Linked DNA regions of Homo sapiens: all the other regions are linked to region 3. The links are contacts of gene promoters, found by promoter capture Hi-C in blood cells and fetal thymus (Javierre and others, 2016). All regions are on one chromosome and are shown on one strand. Each heading gives the region's core, a stretch centred on a gene start or on the middle of the fragment in contact. The rest is flanking DNA. Distances are from core to core; before and after follow the strand shown.

What was found. Contacts are between HindIII fragments. The CHiCAGO score rates a contact against its expected background, and 5 or more counts as called.
Region 1: a contact is called between a fragment that was not itself captured here and the fragment with the promoter of LINC03033 in region 3, in 1 of 17 cell types (activated CD4 T cells). The highest score is 5.1, in activated CD4 T cells.
Region 2: a fragment that was not itself captured here is called in contact with the fragment with the promoter of LINC03033 in region 3 in 1 of 17 cell types (total B cells); the score reaches 5.3 in total B cells.

What each region holds. Positions count from the first base shown.
Region 1 is chr14:61,858,961-61,862,689 of GRCh38, reverse strand. The region is part of intron 1 of SYT16 (synaptotagmin 16); the gene reads right to left. Among named protein-coding and RNA genes, the nearest start is that of SYT16, 48 kb to the right of the region's middle. The HindIII fragment of the contact is 728 bases long and covers 1,418-2,145 here.
Region 2 is chr14:62,074,979-62,079,037 of GRCh38, reverse strand. It overlaps SYT16 (synaptotagmin 16), which reads right to left. Exons shown (of 8, transcript NM_001367656.1): 5 at 3,647-3,903. Among named protein-coding and RNA genes, the nearest start is that of LINC00644, 63 kb to the left of the region's middle. The HindIII fragment of the contact is 2,372 bases long and covers 628-2,999 here.
Region 3 is chr14:61,568,808-61,572,521 of GRCh38, reverse strand. LINC03033 (long intergenic non-protein coding RNA 3033) reads right to left here and starts at 1,982. Exons shown (of 3, transcript NR_039985.1): 1 at 1,762-1,982. It overlaps LINC01303 (long intergenic non-protein coding RNA 1303), which reads left to right and starts at 1,869. Exons shown (of 5, transcript NR_110416.1): 1 at 1,869-2,036; 2 at 2,845-2,978. RefSeq lists silencers at 2,692-2,884, 3,625-3,714 and an enhancer at 3,276-3,714. The HindIII fragment of the contact is 753 bases long and covers 1,563-2,315 here.

The sequences.
Region 1 (3,729 bases), core at 532-3,031, 290 kb before region 3:
TCCAAACTCAGAGAATGTACAACACCAAGAGTGAACCTTAATGGACTCTGGATGATGATGATATGCCAGGGTAGGTTCCTCAGTGTTAACAAATGTATCAGTCTAGTGGGAGATGCTGATAGTGAAGAAGGCTGTGCATGTGTAGGGGCAGGGCATGGGTGGGAAATCCCTGCACCTCCCCTTCAATTTTAGTGTGAACCTAAAACTACTCTAAAATATGTCTACTTTTTAAAAGGGAATAAACATTGATGCACACAAGAACAATGATGAATCTCCAAAGCATTATGTTAAGTGAAAGAAGCCAGACACAAAGGATGACATATGATATGATCCCATCTATATAAAATTTTAGAGAAGACAAAACTATCATGATGGAAAGCAGATCACTGGTTTCCAGGGTCCGGGAGGTGGGAGAGGAGACTGACTGCAATGGGCGACAAGGGAAATTTTTTGGCATGAGAGAAATGTTCTACAAGATGAATGTGGTGGTAGTTTCAAAACTACACACTTGTCAAAAGTTATAGGATGGTACACTTAAAACTGGTGAATTTTTGCATGCAAATTATACTTTCATAAAGCTATAAGAATATAACAATAAAGCACACATAACTCACTTTATTGCGCTTCATTTTATTGTGATTTGCAGATATTGTGTGTGTTTTTTTTACAAATTGAAAGTTTGTAGCAACCCTACATCAAGCAAGTCTGTCAGCACTATTTTTCCAAAGTATGTGCTCACTTTGTGACTCTGTGCCAGTATTTTTTTAGCAATAAAGTATATTTCATTAAGGTAGGTATTTTTTTGGATATGATGCTATTGTATACTTAATAAACTATAGCATGGTGTAAACGTAACTTTTATATGCACTAGGAAACCAAAACATTTGTGTGACTCACTTTATTGAGATACTTGCTTTATTGCAATAGGCTGGAACTGAATCCCCAGTATCTCTAAAATATGCCTATGTAAGAATTCTATCAAACAGGCTGGGCATGGTGGCCCATACCTGTAATCCCAGCACGTTGGGAGGCCAATGTGGGCAGATTGCTTGAGCCCAGGAATTCGAGACCAGCCTGGGCAACATGCCAAAACCCCCTTTCTACAAAAAATATAAAAATAAGCCAGGCATGGTGGCACGTGCCTGTGGTCCCAGCTACGTGGGGGGCTGAAGCAAGAGCCTGAGCCCAAGAGATCAAGGCTGTAGTGAGTCATGTTTGCACTGCACTCCAGCCTGGGCAACAGAGGGAGACCCTGTCTCGAAAACAAAAAGGAGATTATCCGAAAGAAAGTAAAAGGCATCTGTGATTCAACCATCCAGATACTACCACAGTTAAGACTTCTGTGCATTAAAATGTTTATATTTTTACCAAAAAAAATTAGTAAATTTTGCCACTTAATTTTGCAAATTGGTAAGCTTTTTTCACTTAAGATATCCTGAACATTTCTGTGCCCATAAAGAAATAGAATGACAACATGAGCTCTAATGGCTACAAAATAGTCCACTGGATATATACAAAATAATTAATTCAGATTCCCTCCCAGTTGGTGAGCAGTATTGTGATGAATCTCATTATCAGAAATCCCACTCTCTGATCACCACCTTCCATACTTCTAGTTCACTCCTTGCTGGTCCTACATTCCAACTCCAGCCAACTTGATTCTTCCTGGTCCTAGATTCCATCCATCCTACCACTTTCGTCACTGCCTCTCACCCTCCTCCGATTGCTTTCTTCTTCCCCCAGCTTAAAATGCCATGGTCAGTCTCCGTACACCTCACTTGAATACTTCCTCAACACTTGCATCTTCCCACTGCATTAGGCCCACTTAGCAAAACCACACCCTGGTAAAATCCAACACTGCCTGTATCAACATAGCTAAACAAGGCTGGAGAAAAACACTCTTGAATCGAATGGCCTCACATGAAATTCATGGCCTCAAGCCTCAGGTGGATCCTCAATGTAGTGCAGCAATCTTTCTACTTTTCCCTACTCCATTTTCTCCCATTCTCTTGGCCCAGTGCCTCTTAAACTATCTGCTGTGAGGACTAGATGTTTTTATTTCCAATCTATTATAGACCAATACTTTTTAAAAATACAATAAAAATGTTACAGCAATGTCAAGTGCTATAACAGTTTCTAAAAGCTTGCTCTCACTTTCTGTACTCATCTCCTGGCAAGTCAGTAACCAAGGGCTCCCCAACTGGCCACTTTGTGCACTGCAGTCCTAGATGACAAATCTCAAATTGCCAGCACCTCCCCACCTTATTCACTCTGAGTTGATCATCTTGCTTCCTCTTTCACTAAAAAGGAATGAAAGACAATCAGTTCTTACTGATATGCAAATGATGTTTACAAAGGTTATTACTACACTCCTATAATTGCTTCTGTGCTGCTTTGCAAAAAATGAAAACTAAAAATAAATCACACCCAAACAAATACAGGCTAGAATGGTTTGTTGTTGTTGTTGTTGTTGTTTGGAAAGAAGCAGTTCTTTCAAAGTAGCTTTGTTACTTGTACCAAACTGTAAACATAAAACCTTTGTGCAACCTAGAGTGACTTTTTCCAAAGATTGTTACCTATTTCAAGGTGGAACCATTAAAACGTACTGAACCACAGTGGAAAAGACAACTATTGAGCCTAATTGAGGAGAAGGGTACTGTTTATTTCTGTGGCAACTGTATGTGGGTATATGGACAAGGTCTGTCATCTATTTAGGGACTTGTTTTATATGTCCCCGACCTTATCCACATCTTTTTGTTTTCTTTTGAATGTACTTTTCCAAACAAAGAATTATAAAATTATTTCAACCTTAGAACCTTAAGATGCCTTCAAATGGATTTATGTTAGTCTTTAGGGAGTCAATGTGTTGCTGCTTATTATAATATAGTTCGCTTGGAGCCCCAAGTGTGCCAATGTCCTCCCCACACTTCCCAGATGCCTTCATCTTCCTGTGAGCACTTGAGCTAGGAATCTCAGGTGACTTAATTTGGTTTTCCAGTGCTGAGGAGGCTACATTGTCTGGGGTATATATCCAGGGGCTCACCATTTGGCATTGGAAAATTTAGGACACAGACACAAGGAGTTTGTGTCTGTGTCCTAAACCTTTAGGAGTAAAGGTTTAATAGGCAGAAGAAGAGAAACAGCTCTCTCTGTCGAGAGAGAGAGGGGTTTTCCGAGCGGAAAAGATGGGCTGGCTGTGGATGTGCCGGATTGTATAGTAAAGCTTGAGGAGGTGGTGTCTGATTTAGGTAGGTAGGGCTCACAGATTGGTTTAATCAAATGTGAAGTTTACATAGCACGCCCAAATCCGGTCACCCCACCCTAATCTTATTATGCTAATGAACTCTCCGTGTCTGGCCGCCATCTTGTCGCTCTTTACTGTACACATGGCTGGCACCTAAAGGAAGATGGAGCCAACATGTCTAGTCCCTAGTTCCCGCCAGCATTCACTAGCGCAAGCTCCCAGGTTGGCTGTCTACGTCTGCAGCTCGACTTTACAGGCTGCTCTTTGTTAGAAAATGATTTGGGGCTGGCCGGGCGCGGTGGCTCACGCCTGTAATCCCAACACTTTGGGAGGCCGAGGCGGGCGAATCATGAGGTCAGGAGATCAAGACCATCCTGGCTAACATGGTGAAACCCCGTCTCTACTAAAAATACAAAAAAAAAAATTAGCCGGGCGTAGTGGTGGGCGCCTGTAGTCCCAGCTACTCGGGAGGCTGAGGCAGGAGA
Region 2 (4,059 bases), core at 564-3,063, 510 kb before region 3:
AGTAATAATAGCTAACATCTACTAAACTATTTCTTATGCCAAATACCATATCAAATCCTTTACAGACTATAAAAATTGGCTCTTAAACACTTCAGATCTTCTTGGCCTTAACTCATGTTCCATCTTCCCCTAAGGCACAGCCTATATGGGCTCTAAGTAGTTTCAGCCTGGAACTACTCAATAAAGTCTTACCTTCTACCCACACAATATAATTCTCATTTCTTATCATTGGTCTCTCTGTCGACCGCCAAGGCTTAGACAGCTGCAGAACCCTGCTTGACACCAATATATGTGAAGTCTACTTTTTGCCCCGTAGTCAGTTGTCCTATCAGTTCATACAGCTTCTTGGAGTGTGATCACACAAGATCAGGCAATTAGCCATACTGAGTGGTGGCCAATTCAACTGTGTATTCTCACACTTGACCTCCCTTCTTCCCTGCCTTACTTCCCTTGTCTCGCACTTTTGTTCCCTGGGGTTGCACTCCCAAAGCAGGGAACAAAGCCTTTACGTAGGCTCTGCTTTTTTGAGGAACCCAACTAAGAAACATTATCTTTTTGAATATTTACATCAATGCAATGAGGTAGGTATTTTAATATCTTCATTTTATGGAGGACGAAACTCAAGCTTAGAAAGACTAAATAACTAACACGCTCTCTCCCCCCAAGCCCAGATCAAATTCCCAGACAAGATTATCCAGGACTCATGCCCTGGCAGTTTGAGTCCCAGGCCTGCCTTAACTCGTATCCAATACTCAAAATTTCAAACCTTATTTTGAAACATACAGTCTCCTTTCTTCTTCCCCAAACCTTTAGGCATAACTATTTCTACATATAGACATATGTGTGTGTGTGTGTGTGTGTGTGTTTATATATATATATATAGAGAGAGAGAGAGAGAGCGAGAGAGCACTAGAGAGAGAGAGAGAGAGAGCAAGCGCACAAGATGAAGGGGGAGAAGACGGAAGGTGGGGGTTGGAATCACACTCTCTGTGGTTTTCACATCCTTTGAGGCCCCTGCTCTTAATGTTAGTTAATAGCTCTTAGTTTTGTCAACTTCAATGCCAAGGTAAAAATATTTTAGTGAATGAGGAGCTCTCTCCACTTATGTATCAGGCTGTCTCTTCGGATAAATGCTCACTCCACCTGCAGGTTTCTAAGAGAGTCCTGGGTAGAGCTCCTGACTGTCCTAAGAACTCCTCTGAATAAACAGATCCTGCCAATGGCTGGGCTTTGGATAGGCCAATTCAAGCTGTGGCCCATGAAAACTGGGCTTTGTAGCCCCTCCCTGGGTTGATTTGAGAAAAAGATTTGTGAATGCTGGTATTTTCATAGCAATTAATTATTTCAACACACTTTACCTCTCACCAGGCAACTGAAGGAGCTCCTCACTTGGGTACTGTTAATACCACTAATCCATCTGACCTTCCTGCAAGGTAAAAATCTCTTCATTCTTATCCCCATTTGGCAGATTTTAATTAACTTCTCAAGGCCAACCAATTAATCAGTGGAAAGCAGAGATGAAAAGTGGGACACCTGTCTCCCTGTGTGCTCAAAATCACCAGCCACACTCCCATTGTCTTTCCTGCCAAGCCCTGGGTCTGCAGGAAAAAGCCAAAGGCCTTCGCCAGCAGAGAAGAGCAGAGCTCGAAAATCCATCAGCCTAACAGGTAGTCACACTGCACGACCAGTTTCCTGCTGAGACAAAATAAATGATTCCTTGAGCTCCAATATCCTGGGCTTTTCCTTAAGATGAGAATACTTGTGTCAAATTGTCAAAACCCAGGTAGGTTTAAAGATTTTCTGTCAAATTGAAAGCCTTTCTGTTTTAGTAAGATAGTGTTGATGTCATCTGTGTGGCCTAAAGTAAACAGGCCTACAATATGTTCCTGATGCCAGATACACAGGGGAAGACAGAGTTCTCAATACAGCTAAGAGGCAAATAAATCATTTCTTAAAAGGCAAGCTAAGCCTGCAAAGCAGGCAGTTACGGGAACTGCCTCCGAGTTGGATTTGAGGTTCTACTGTAGGAGCACCAAATTACAGTTTTTTCTCAAAATAGATAGGAGGTTGAATGGAGCACACAGAGATGTCTGGGTATTTTTGGAGTCTGAGAACATTTAGTACCCTCAATACCGAGTCTTCTATTAAAGCTCCAGCAGGCAGGTAAATGGGAGGTGACCTGGAGAAGTCACTTCCAAGCCTCATGGCACAATCACCAAGGAGACAGAGTATCAATAGGCAGGCAAATCATTTGGTCTGTTTTGTTTTTGGGAGAGAGATTCAAAATATTTTTTAAGAGTTAGTGTGTGGGATTTGATACGGCTTGGTAGTAAACTAACGGGTAAGCAGAGTTTTTTCTTTTTTTAAACAAAATGTATAAAGTTAATGGCTTTGGGTGCCTCCATATGAAGGGCTGCTTTTTAACAAGCCACAAACCACATATGTGAGCTACCATTTCTGGTCCTCAGCAGAGACATCTACACAGGGGCACAGATGTGTATGCATACCCCTCCTTAGATACTACCTACACACGCCAACATGTTAGCAGTTAAGGCTTGGAAACAGGGTTTTCTGTGATTCCTTTTTTTTTTTTTACCTTGAGCATTTAGCGTGTGTGACACTCCAAGTCCTAATAAGAGATGCATCCTGTTTATTTTCTCAAATGGATGCTAATAAAATCCATTCACCTCTCTCCTTCTTCCCCCATCCCTGCAAATTATATTAAAGGTTTATATATGTATATGACTTATTTCATCAAAATTAATTTCAAATTAGGTATTAAACACCATTCCTTAATGCCTTCCAATGTCACAGAATCATGATAGGAGGGATCTATCTAATGGAAAAATAACCGTAAGGGCCAGTAAAAGGAAACAATTTGGTAAAATCCTTATCACAGTGCCTGGCATATATTAACTGCTCAATAAATGGTAGCTACTACCATCATCACCTCCAGCCATATCTCTGGATTGATTGTTACATTTATTCTGGACTAAGCTTTACTTGAAAAAGAACTTTGGAAGAAGTATCTTTTATCAGAGATTTACTACAAAACCAATGTCAATGGCCAGAGGGGCATTACTGATTAATGCTGTCTCCTAGGCACAAAATATATTTTGTATATATTCACAGTGCAAGATCTGCATCATTACACCTTGTATAATTTCACTTGGAAGGCCATTTCATTTTAGTTCAATTTTCAAATAATTTTCATATCAAATAATCGTAACTTGAGATTTGGGCTAAATAAAAATAGACTCCACTTAATTGAAACCATGAAGTAAATAAACCAGTCCCTCTAAAGAACTGAAAATTCCATTATTTAAAATTAAGTCTATAAAAAGCCTTTATATAAAAGAAAAGCCTGGCTGTTCCTGGATCCATTCTGCCACCATTCTTATTTTTTTTTCTTTTTTTCTTTTTTTTTTTTTTTACCGTTCATCCTTTTTTTTCCATTTTGAGAGAAATTTATGACTCTTTTATTGACATGCATGGGATTTTGGTCATCTGGACAAAAATTTATTGCAGATAAAAGTAATGCTTCCTTTCTGGAATTTTTTTTTTTTTTTAGAGAGATGAGAAAGGAGAGTGGAAAGAGGGGAAGGGGAAAGGGAACCAATGAAAGAATGAAAAACAAATAACTTGCCTCTGGACTCCACATGGAGGAGCTGTCAGTGGCATAGGAATCTTCAAATCCCCGGCTATTAAAAGCTGTCTCCATCTCCAAGCTGCCCTCTGTGGATTGGCGCCTGAGGCTTTGGACCACACTGGACTCTTGGTGAGATGTGCCGTGGTGTTTGGCATCCCCTCTTTCACATGGGGACTGTGAGTGAGCAGGGATGTGGTCATCTTCACCGTAGGAGAGATTCTCAGAATAACGCCGTTGGCTGGCTCCATCCAAATCTAAATTTGCAATAAGAAAACCATTTCAAATGCATTATTTTTAACACCTTTTTACCTAGAGAAATTGAGTAATTGCAGTCACAACAATCAAGATTGCAGAAACAGAACCCATACCAATAATACCTGCAGAAACATAATTCTATCCATACAGTGAAG
Region 3 (3,714 bases), core at 733-3,232:
AGGATGAAGGTGATGTAGAGTAGTAGATGGCAGCTCTACTCTGGAAGTCCAGAATACTGCTCTGATTCACACCTGCAAGCCTTATTGGTCAATGACTACTGATATTCCAGCCACCCAAACAACTGCTTTCGGAGAAGCATTAATACCTGCGAATAAAACAAATCTATTCGTTTCATACATTTGGTTCAGAACACTAGGAGAATTTGAGAAGAGACGAGCCAGCCCCAAGCTGTCCTTGTTTCTTTTATTAAGAATAGGCCATGATTTGAGCACATTCTACTACTTGCCTCACTTCAGCCTATTGATGGGGGAAAAGTGAGAGTCTGTGTGTGGGGACTCTGGCTTGGCAGTGAGATCTAACACAGAAAGATCCTGAAGAAATATGCTGACAATGGGGTTTTATCTCTTCAATGCACTGGAGACAAAATCCCTGCTTTTAAAAACAACACTCATACAGAGCCAAGGATGTCCCAGAGTGAACAGTCCTAACCCTTTCTCAGCCTGCCTAAGAGCTCGTTGGTTTCAGAAGGATGAGCCAAGGACTGCTACTTAGAGACTACTGTCTAGGTCAACCCAACTGGCATAAGTAAAGCACCTACTGTTTATAGTAGGAGGCTGCAAGATAACAGGAGATGCAGACTATTGAAGGCTACTGATCTATCTGTGTAGACAGGCAAGAATAAAACAACTGGAGAAGAAATCCAGGATTACACAAAAAGAAGAGCGTGATGGTATGGTAGACTACTCCAGAACAGTGAATTTCCCCTGCATTAAGGATGAGATCCCTATGAATTGGGATCATTCAGGAAGTCTTCTTGGAGAAGAAAAGTTTGAGCATATGGGGAAAAAAAGTTGGATTGGCAAAGAGCTGAGCTGTCAGTAGCTGGGTCCTTAGTAAGTAGGCTGCATGGAGCTGGGAGTTATGCTAAAGGAGTTGTAATTTGGGATGCCTCTAATTAACCATTTTGGGAAAAATATAATAAATCCCTTTGTAGCATCTATAATAAACTGCCCAATATCTATGTGGTGGGGAAAAAGTTTTATTCTACGTTTCACGTGGATGGTGATAACACTAGGTAATCTCAGCATCTTTCTTATTCTCTTGCTAATCCAGGATTCTAAGTAATAATCACTTTGTTCTACAACCTGAATCTAGCCCTTGTACTGTGCAGTTTTTTTCTACACTTATTTTTCCTGTTGTCTGAATCAATCTCCATGGAAGCATAAGTTTTACTGAGTTTCAACCAGCTGTGTCCACCGAGGTAAAGATGGTAAAAATAAAAGGCACAGGGCATATATACCACAGCAGCAGTTACTTCCCACAAGGAACCAGAGATTGGAAGTGAAGCTAAAACATTTTCAGCTACGATAGCATCTCTTTCAAGGTGAGCCATTTCCCCAGGGAGAGTTTCCAGCTCTTAGCAAAGGCAGAACAATAAAACATCAAGGATGTCTTTCTAAGGCTGCAAACAGAATAGCCAATACCTTGAAGCTGATCTGCTTCAGAGTCCTTTAAAAGCCAGGACAGCAACAAAGTGCCCACATTACATTTTCTACAAGCTTGCTAAGCATCTCTTTTCCTAAACCACAAAACCCGAGACATTTCTACAGAACAGGCAGAAAGGGAAGTCCTGGGAGATCAGGGCCCTGTCTCAGCAGGCATCACTCCAGCCTGTCTTTTCCCGAGTGGTTTTCTGCACTTCTCTTCCATCTTTTCCCCTCTGTCCCACACTGGAAGTCACTAGTCTGTGCCCTCCTTACCTCCCATGGTTTCTGCACCTTCATTTCCAAAGGCAAGTGAAAACAGTGCCAGGCTGCGCACATGGGTTACTCCAGGGACTTCTCTTCCCGTTTCCCCTAAAGCATTTGACAGTTAGATCTTGGAACTGAGTCCAGCAGCACTGAGGTCAGAGAGATGGCTAAAGCTAAAAGCAAACTGGATGCTGTTCAGGAGGTTCTCCTTTGTCATTTTTATCTCCAAATAGAAGACCTCTGTTTTCCCAGAAGATTAAATAGTAGAAAAGAAGTAGCCCAAGGTGGGTGACTCTGCAAACAGGTGGGTGAGGTCTCTAGTTGAGTGAGGGGGTGTCTGTGGGTTGTGGGTTCTTCTTATGAGCAGAGCTTGGAGGAATTTGTTCTATTTGTTGTGGTTTTCCCAGGGGGAAGTCGGGGGTGGCTGGGACTCTAATGATCATTATCAGAAGACTTTGGATTAGGCCTCTGAAACTTTAAGATGTGGATCCTCTCGCAATCATGTTAAAATGCAGATCTCCTTTCAATAGGTCTGGGACAGAGCCTGGCTTTTCTATAAAGCTTCTGGTGATGGGATGTCGCTGGTTCTCAGCCACAATTTGAGTAGCAAGAGGTTAGCTTTTCTACTTACTGCCTTCATATCCCCAGTTGGGCTATGTCGTTTTATCAAAACAATGTGGTAAGAGTGAGCGCCAATTACTAGCCTGTTGAATCATCCATTGTTAGAGCTGTTTCTTTGAGGTACATTTAAGAGGCCCCTCCCTGTGGTTCCCCATTGCACAAGAAGCCCATTTGCCAGGCAATACCTTGGGCAAGCAAGCCACTGTGCAAAATTGCATTGGCTCTTCCTGCTGCCAGCCAGGCGGCTGCTGGTTGACGTTGGAGTTGTACAGTTTATGTGATAGTGATGACAGCGCTGGCTCTGAAGGGTACTGAAGATTTTGAAGGGGTACTTCGCTGCAGCAGCTTCACCTCTCACTTTTGTTTACCCACCCCCGAGGCTTGTGGGAGAGAAGGATCAGGCAGAGCTCTGCACGTGCCATGCCAGGGGTGGAGGAATTATATTTTTATTTTTTGCTTTCTCTGCTACAGGACATACCATGCCTTTTACAGATATTTATAGGACAATTTCCCTCCTGAGAGTGCCCAAGCATGGGGGATGGTGAGGAAGATGACTGAAGGAGAAAGCAGGAAAAGGGGGTGTCTGCATGTATGAGGATTGGAAGGTGGGGAAAACCCTTCGTGTTTGGTTCAGCCTTCAAGAAAGAGGAGGGGTTGACTAGATTACAGATGTTAAACCAGGGGTCTGTGGTTCAAACCAGCAACTCTCTGCCCTTGTAAGCTGTATCTGGCTGGTGTGTTAATTTGTCTAGGGTAAGAGCCCCTAGGTTTCAACAGATTGTCCTAGAGTCAATGATACACAAAAGGTTAATCAGCCTCATTTCCAATCAGGATCATCTGCAAGTCCCTCCCAGAGCAGATATTTGGAGCACTAGGCTTCTAGAAGCAGCAGACATCAAGTTCGGGCCATGGGATTAGGGTGGACAGGGCAGCCACTTGGAATCATTTTCTACCAGAGGCAGAAGAGGCTCAGCTAGCAACAGCCCCATTTTACAGAGCAGAAGCCGAGCTGCAGTCAATTCAGTGATTCCTCCTAAAGTAGGGAGTCAGAAGCCGAGCCTGGACTGGAACCTCGGCCTCCTAGCACACAGAGCACAGGTCTACATTGGGGAAAAGCCCCTTCAATCTGGCAGTTGCCTGGAAAGCGCAAGACATTTGCGGCCAGAGCGCCAGGAGCCCAGCTGGTTATTTCTAGCTTCCTGAATGTCAAAAATACAGGCCGCTTCTCAAAGCAGCCTCCACTTGTCAGACCAAATCAAGGCATCAGCGCGTCAAGCAGGCGAATCCTCTGCCCCAGGCACCAGCCTGGGGGCGCACGCCCTGCCTCCGCCCCGCCCCACA